Linked DNA regions of Homo sapiens: region 1 is linked to region 2. Evidence: promoter capture Hi-C in human tissues and cell types (Jung and others, 2019). All regions are on one chromosome and are shown on one strand. Each heading gives the region's core, a stretch centred on a gene start or on the middle of the fragment in contact. The rest is flanking DNA. Distances are from core to core; before and after follow the strand shown.

The links. The method cuts DNA at HindIII sites, captures the fragments that hold promoters and counts their contacts. A contact is called where the count stands out against the background at its distance.
Region 1: a contact is called between a fragment that was not itself captured here and the fragment with the promoter of ARPP19 in region 2, in 1 of the 25 tissues and cell types used here (dorsolateral prefrontal cortex).

The regions. Positions count from the first base shown.
Region 1 is chr15:51,993,346-51,997,752 of GRCh38, forward strand. It overlaps a transcript of MAPK6 not described here. Among named protein-coding and RNA genes, the nearest start is that of MAPK6-DT, 24 kb to the right of the region's middle. The HindIII fragment of the contact is 6,257 bases long and covers 1-4,407 here.
Region 2 is chr15:52,567,534-52,571,750 of GRCh38, forward strand. ARPP19 (cAMP regulated phosphoprotein 19) reads right to left here and starts at 1,497. Exons shown (of 3, transcript NM_006628.6): 1 at 1,315-1,497. The coding sequence starts at 1,359. RefSeq lists enhancers at 348-1,096, 1,097-1,843, 1,897-2,026 and silencers at 1,197-1,296, 1,367-1,426. The HindIII fragment of the contact is 6,620 bases long and covers 1-4,217 here.

The DNA.
Region 1 (4,407 bases), core at 856-3,355, 570 kb before region 2:
AGCGCTACATCAGGAACTGCAAATGAAGATCAAAATATATACCTTACGATGTCACAGACAGACCCAGGAGATTGTTTACAAATGGAAGGATTGATTAAATAAGTCATCATGTTAAGGATAGCAGGAATCAAGTTTCTCACTGGCAGAAATGGAGTTACATATGTGGAAAGTGAAAAAACTAGAAGAATTATTTGGTGTTGGATTAGAAAGGTATTAGTGTAAATTCATAATTTTAAATATAGATAGATGGATGTAGAAATAAATATAGATGTAAATGTGTGTATATGTAAAAGTTTATATATATAAATGCTCACATATATGTACACACATACATATATTTCATATATTCCCTAGCTCTGTCCACAAAAAGGGCCTGAGAACAGTGACACCTAATAGCAATGCGTACACATAATGCCCAGATCTTGGTTTCTCTTTTCTTTCTTTTCTTTTTTCTTTCTTTTTTTTTTTTTTTGACATGAGGTCTCACTATGTTGCTCAGGCTAGTCTCAAACTCCTGGACTGAAGAATCCTCTGCCTCTCTTTCCCAAGTAGCTGGGATTACCGGAACACACCACCATGCCCAGCTTAGCTCTCGGTTTCTTTTTATTTATTTATTTATTTATACTTTTTTTGAGACAGAGTTTTGCTCTTGTCACCCAGGCTGGAGTGCAATGGCACGATCTTGGCTCACTGAAACCTCCACCTCCTGGGTTCAAGCGATTCTCCTGCCTCAGCCTCCCGAATAGCTGGGATTACAGGCATTCGCCAACATGCCTGGCTAATTTTGTATTTTTAGTAGAGACGGGGTTTCTCTATGTTGGTCAGGCTGGTCTCGAACTCCCAGCCTCAGGTGATCTGCCCACCTCACCCTCCTAAAGTGCTGGGATTACAGGTGTGAGCCACCGCGCCTGGCCAGCTCTTGGTTTCTAAATACCATTCTCCACCAAAAGGAACCAGGGCCCCTTGGAGAATGGCTGATTCCCGGGCTGAGGCAGATGCTGGGCATGGTGGCTCATACCAGAGGCTGAGACAGAGGATTGCTTGAACCCAGGAATTTCAGACTAGATTACAGGCCATTTATTTTTATAGAATGTCTTTTAATTTAGGTTCGTCTGAGGTTTCATCATGATTATCACTGTGGTAAGCAATGATCGTGCCACTGTACTCCAGCCTGGGCAACAGAGCAAGACCCAGTATCTAAAAAAAAGATTTTTTTTAAAACTGGAAGTTTGATGAGGAATGGAATATTTACATAGCTTCAAGGTATTCCTCACAAAATACTTAAGTACAAAGAGAAAAAGAGTAACTTTACAGTGGAAAAGTCTGGAAGACACCATGTTATTCAAGTGATCAAAATCAGCCACATCAGTGATGGGACAAATTGACATCATGCTATTGGAAGAACACAGCGTTGATTCTCTGATTGTTCTGCCAAAGGTGCATGAATCTAATCATGATAAAACCTCAGACAAGCCTACATGGAAAGACATTCTATAAAAATAAATGGCCTGTAATCTAGAAAAGTATCAAAGTCATAGAAGTAAAAGAGTCTAAGGAACCATTCAAGATTGAAGAAGACGGAAGACCTATAATAACTAAATACAACCATCATTTCTGAACATTGCTGATTGTGATGATTGTGCTGGAGGAATATGCTTATTAGCAAGAAATACTAAAGTATTTGGGCATGATGGGGCATTTTCACAGTTTAAGCTTTGCAAGAAGTCTCTGAGTCAGAGTTTAGTGTCCAGGATGTTTGCTAGGGAGTGTCTTTGGGATCGACACCTGTGCCAGGGCAGAGGAGGAAGCAGGCTTAGACAGAAGGAAAAGTAAACTGTATGTAAGGAAGGCCCAGCAGCCTCAGCTGACCTCATGAGGAGCTCTGGAGCTACAGCGACCCTTGGGCATTGTCCCAAACCAGCCTGAAAGGGCTAGACTTCCAAATTATACCTTGATCAGCTGCTGGATGCAGACTGTTCCCAAAAGGGCATGAGCTTGGGTGAGGTTGCTTTCTGCAGCTGTAGGAGTTGATGACTGATTGCTGTCTGCTGACAGTACTCCAAGTAGAAGGGACAAGAAGTCCTTCCATAAAGGGAAGCTCAGTGGCTTCATCTCTGTGTTCATTCTTGTGCTGCTTTCACATCCACTTCTTCATATACGTTTGAGTAGTAACTCCTGCAAGATTTATGATAGGCCTCTCTCCCTGGGGAAACTTTGAAAAGGAAGACTTATAGGACAAACTATAGCTGCCTCCGCTATAGTTGTTCCTGGGGCCACAATCAAAACTTACAGGCTTTCTAGGCCAGGCGCAGTGGCTCATGCCTGTAATCCCAGCACTGTGGGAGGCCGAGGTGAGTGGGTCACTTGAGGTCAAGAATTTGAGAATATCCTGCCCAACATGGTGAAACCCTGTCTCTACTAAAAATACAAAAATTAGCCAGGCATGGTGGCGCATGCCTATAGTCCCAGCTACTCAGGAGGCTGAGGCAGGAGAATCGCTTAAACCCGGGAGGCAGAGGTGGCAGTGAGCTGAGATCACAGCACTACACTCCAGCCTGGGCTACAGAGTGAGATTCCGTTTCAAAAAAAAAGAAAGAAGGAAAGAAAGAAGGAAAAAAACAACTTACAGGCTTTCTAAATTCCTCTCATCCTCAGCTACCACCGCTTTCAGCCTTGGTAACTTACCTGGGGAGGCGATTTAGATTCCCATCTCAGAGAGGTCTGAGTTTCTGGTCACCAGGCCTTTCTAAGGACAGAGTTGCTGTATTATCCATTTACCTTCACAACAAGGCAAGGGAATAACAACAAGAGGCATTCAAGCAGATCCTCAGAGCACTGAAACATTTTTCCTTCCCCTTATCGTATAACAGAAGAAGACCTAACCTCTTCTAATGACCAGGGTCAATACCCCCGCCAAGATTGTTGGTCTACTTCTAGCCTGCTTGTCTCTGGATTCTAGGAGTCTTCAATGCCCAGATGGCAGCTTTTGCTAGTAATTCAGAGACTTTGGCTGTGTCCCCTGGTGGAAATATTCCCCTTTTATTTATTTATGTATTTATTATTTTTTTGAGACAGAGTCTTGCTCTGTCACCCAGGCTGGAGTGCAGTGGTGCAATCTTGGCTCACTGCAACCTCCACCTCTTGGATTCAAGTGATTCTCCTGCCTCAGCCTCCCGAATAGCTGGAATTACAGGCATGTGCCACCATGCCCAGCTAATTTTTGTATTTTTAGTAGAAACGAGGTTTCGCCATATTGGCCAGGATAGTCTCGAACTCCTGGCCTCAAGCGATCCACCTGTCTGGGCCTCCCAAAGCACTAAGACTACAAGCATGAGCCACGGCGCCCGTCCTCCTCCTCCTTCTTCTTGACAAAGTGTCATTCTATTTCCCAGGCTGGAGTGCAGTGGCATGACCATAGATCACTGCAGCCTGCAACTCCTGGGCTCAAATGATCCTCCTGCCTCAGCCTCCCAAGTAGCTAGGACTATAGGTATGTGCCACTGCACCCAACTAAGTTTTTTTAGTTTCTTATAGTGACATAGTCTCCCTATGGTCTGGAACTCCTAACCTCAAGTGATCCTCCTGCCTTAGCCTCCCAGAGTGCTGGGATTACAGGTGTGAATGACCATGCCAGGAAATTTTTTTTTTTTTTGAGACGAAGTCTCACTCTGTCGCCCAAGCTGGAGTGCAGTGGCACAATCTCAGCTCACTGCAACGTCTGCCTCCCAGGTTCAAGCAATTCTCCTGCCTCAGCCTCCTGAGTAGCTGGGATTACAGGCGCCCGCCACTACACCCAGCTAGTTTTCTTGTATTTTTAGTAGAGACTGGGTTTCACCATGTTGGCCAGGCTGGTCTTGAACTCTTGACCTCGTGATTCACCCACCTTGGCCTCCCAAAGTGCTGGGATTACAGTGAGCCACTGTGCCTAGCAATTTTTTTTTTTTGAAACAGAGTCTTGCTTTGTCACCTAGGATGGAGTGCAGTGGCATAATCTTGGCTCACTGCGACCTCTGCCTCCCGGGTTCAAATGATTCTCCTGCCTCAGCCTCCTAAGTAGACATGTGCCACGACACCCAGCTAATTTGCATATTTTTAGTAGACAGGGTTTCACCACATTGGCCAGGCTGGTCTCGAATTCCTGACCTCAAGTGATCTACCCGCCTTGGCCTCCCAGAGTGCTAGAATTGTAGGCATGAACCACCTTGCCCGGCCCAGGCAAATTTTTAAAGTTATTTTCTTTCTTTCTTTTTTTTTTTTTTTTTGAGATGGAGTTTCGCTCTTGTTGCCCAGGCTGGAATGCAATGGCGTGATCTCGGCTCACTGCAAACTCTGCCTCCCGGGTTCAAGCGATTCTCCTGCCTCAGCCTCTTGAGTAGCTGGTATTACAGGTGCCCGCCACCACACCCA
Region 2 (4,217 bases), core at 247-2,746:
ATACGCATTTTACAATAAGCAGGTGATACTTAATAATACTGTTAAGATTGCAAACTTTAATATTTGTATTTTTGCCCCCAAAATCCATTTTTTTGGTAATGCGTAAATATATCTATTTTCACGGGATATTCTCAAATAATGTGGTAACTTGGACTTTTACCTATGCTATATGTTTTCTTGTTTTTCAATTACTTTAACATCCTAACAGAAGCACCCAACTTAAGAAAAGTTAACACGGTTTTAAGAACATATGGAATGGGCTTAGAACACTAATCCAATTCCCAACTTAATTAGGACATAAGTGCAACATTAAGCAGAAACCCGCACGAAGGTCAAGCAGTAGACCAAAATCGTATTTAACGGCAACACAACCTGATTTGTAAGAAAAATTGTTGATAAACAATTTAGGAGACAAGATACCTCGGCCCTTTCTCACTTCTCGGCCAGTCACACCTGCCTAGGAGGGCAGGGCGGTGGAAATAATTACAGTGGGAGAGACAAACACCAGCCTAGATAAATACAAAGGCTTGATATTCATAATTTGAACCACAGTGACACTCCCGGCCTATTCCCCTACATCAGGAAGACACAAGGGCGTTTACAAAATATTCCTGTTTCCAATAAAACCCTGATTAATTTCGTGAGTAAAATTTTAAAATTCCACCCTTTCGATTTTTAGTCAAGTACCATATTTGAGTCCCATCGACTGAAACCTTTTTGAGCACAGACTGCGCTGCACACTACACCTGACTCACCTCCTCTAGGCCTCACCCCGCCGTGGGAGGCAAGCACCAGTATTCGGCCTTTACAGGTGAAGACACTGAAGGCCGGACTTTACTCACTGACCATGGTTACAAGGGTTGGCCCTGAAATGCCAATCCTGGCCCACATCGCGGCCCGCACACGAGGCACTGCTTTTGGAGTGAACCGCACGCTCACAATACAAGTAGTTGGAGAGTTCTTCAAAGGAAAAAATAAAACTTCCTAACCAAATTGAGGCTTACAGAAAAACTTAGGCTCTACGCCCAAAGCCTGCGTCCTGGGCTCTCGCGTAAATATAAGTGACTGAGGAACACCGCGACCCACGGAGGTGTTACAAAAGGCACGATTCGGAGTAAACGCGGGGCACGTTGGAACTCCCAATTCGTCGGCGCACCAGCCAGCGACGGCGGGAAGCCAAAGGTGGGGCGCAGGAGCCTCGGCCTCATGCGCCTCGGCCCCGCATCTCGGGCGCGGCCCTCCGCCTGGCGGGAGCAGGCCGCCCGCCAGACCCGGCCTTGGGCAGGGCCCAGGGCTCACGCCCCGCGCGCTCACCTTCTGCTCCTCCGCGGAGGCTGCCTCGGGGACTTCCGCAGACATAGTGCTCCCTCTGCAGACGAGACGCCGGGAAAAGATGCAATTAGCGGGTGGCCGAGGCCACCCGGCCGCCGCCCGTCCCAGCTCTCCCAGGGCCCGCCGGGCCGCCTCCGCCCGCGAAAATGGCCGCCGCCTTATGACGACACGGAGCCGCGAAACGCTCCGCTGGCCAAGGCCCTCGCACGCCGGAGCCCGCCTGCCCCTCCCGCACCGCACCCCTACCTACTTGACCCCGCTTCTCCCGCTCGCTGTCGTCCAAACACTTCCTTTTTTCCTTCAAAGGTCGCCGCTCCTGCCTCACCTCACATCCGTTTGTGGCTGCCGAGTGCTTCCTGGGAATTGTAGTTTCTAAGTGGAACCGCCCCTCCCCGCCCTTTCCTGTCCACTCTGGTCCCCTCGTTCTAGGAGCTTTATTTTACTCTTTCCACTTACCCATCCTCGCCTAGTTCTGTTCTCCTCGCTCTCCGCTCTGTAGCCACACAGGCTGTCTTTTGGGCACGCCAAAAGTCTTGCTCCACTCTGCCACGCCTTCACATCTCCAGTCCTACGTCTCTGCCTCAGAACCTTTCCTTCCTAAACCTCTACACTAGGCCAGAGCCACCTCTTAAAGGCTGTCACAGCCCTGTACAGTTCCTCAACAACATGAACTGTATCATTACACAATTGTCGTGACTTTAGGTCACCTTTCCTTCTCAGATAAGCCGCACCAGGGCAGGGATCTCGTCTGTAATTACTTATATTTTACTCTGAGGGTCCAGCACTTCCTAGATATCTAACGAAGGAATTCAGATTCATTTGTCCACTCCCAGGGGGTCCACTCCCACAAGCTTACCGAAACTGCTAGCATTGAGCTCCCCCAATGACCTTTTTATTTGCCAAGTCCTGCGGCTTCTTACTGAATCCTCATTCTACTTGATATCTGAATAGTTACTCGCAATGTTTGTTGGTTCCAACAAAGTGTCCCTCAGAAACTTGGAAATAAGATTGCCCTCTAAAAGTTAAACTAGTAAAAAGCCACAGAAAATGAATGCATTTCTGGGGGCAGGGGAACAATTGAAAGACCCTAAATGCCTGGATAAGGAATTTGGAAACCATCGAAACTCAACCAGGATGTAGAATCTCAGACAGGAAGAATTGCACTGGAATTGCAACTAGAAAAACAAAAAGAGTTAATATTGCACTCCTTTTGGAGAAACGAAGGAAGGCATTTGTCAGCCAAGGAAGTATTGAAAATAAAAGGGTTCAACAGGCCAACTGTTTGACAAAGATATCCCTTAAGAATGTCTCACGCTGGGCTAGCTGAGAAACTGTAAGATCCACGACATATTTGTTCTCCTTCTATACTCACAAAGTAACATACTGAAAATTTGCCTTTCCCTTAAGCAGAACTGCAGAGAGAAAGAAGAGTGCAGTAGTTAGGCCACTGAAGCATTTAACAGTTGTATTTTTATTAATAAATTGACTGACGTTCTAGTATATGTCCTATATCAATGTATTTGTGAACTTGAGTTAAAATCTGATAGACATACACTTAATGATGAAACTCAGCCTCAAGAAAATTGGCTGTGGCTGGGCACAGTGGCTCACTCGTAATCCCAGCACTTTGGGAGGCCAAGGCGGGCAAATCGCTCGAGCTCAGGAGTTCAAGACCAGCCTGGCCAACATGGCAAATCTCTGTCTCTACAAAAAGAAAAAAAACTTTTTTTTCTTTTTCTTTTTGAGACAGAGTCTCAACTCTGTCACCCAGGCTGGAGTGCAATGGCACAATCTCGGCTCACTGCAACCTCCACTTCCTGGGTTCAAGCAATTCTCCTGCCTCTGCCTCCCAAGTAGCTGGGATTACAGTTGCCCACCACCACACCCTGATAATTTTTTGTATTTTTAGTAGAGACAGGGTTTTGCCGTGTTGTCCAGGCTGGTCTCGAACTCCCGGCCTCAAGTGATCCACCCGCCTCGGCCTCCCAAAGTGCTGGGATTATAGGAGCGAGCCACCACATCTGGCCTTTTTTTTAAAATTGGCTATGTGACCTTGGATAAAAAGAATCTGTTTCTGATAGTGACACTCGCAGAAGGGGAAGTTTGAATTTCTGGGGGCAGACTTTGGTCAAATGGAGAATTCACCATGGGCAATGCTCCACAATGAGGACCTGTCTGGAAAGCCATTCTTTCCCAACTAACACCACTCTGCATCATTATGAACCTTAATGTGTAAAACTGCACACTGGTCCCCAGCACCCTGTTTGTCAAAACTTCCTTCTCTTGATCTCCAGGATACTATTGTCTCATGGATTTCCTCCTACTTAACCTCCCTGTTGAATCTTAACCTGCCTCTTAATGGGAGGATTCTAACAGTTCTGTCCTTGGATCTCCTTCTCTTCTATGTTTACACAGCCTCCAGGAAATAACTTCCACCTTCATAGTTTTTTTTCTTTTTTGAAACAAAGTGTCACTCTGCCACCCAGGCTGGGGTGCAGTGGCACCATCTCAGCTCACTGCAATCTGCCTTCTAGGTTCAAGTGATTCTCCTGCCTCAGCTTCCCAAGTAGCTGGGACCACAGGCACATGCCACCATGCCCGGCTAATTTTTGTATTTTTAATAATTGTAGGCCTGGCACGGTGGCTCACACCTGTAATCCCAGCACTTTGGGAGGCCGAGGCGGGTGGATCACTTGAGGTCAGGAGTTCGAGACCAGCCTGGCCAACGTGGTAAAACCATCTCTACTAAAAATACAAAAATCAGCTGGGCATGGTGGTGGGCACCTGTAATCCCAGCTACTTGGGAGGCTGAGGCAGGAGAATTGCTCAAACCTAGGAGATGGAGGTTGTAGTGAGCTGAGATCATATCACTGCACTCCAGCCTG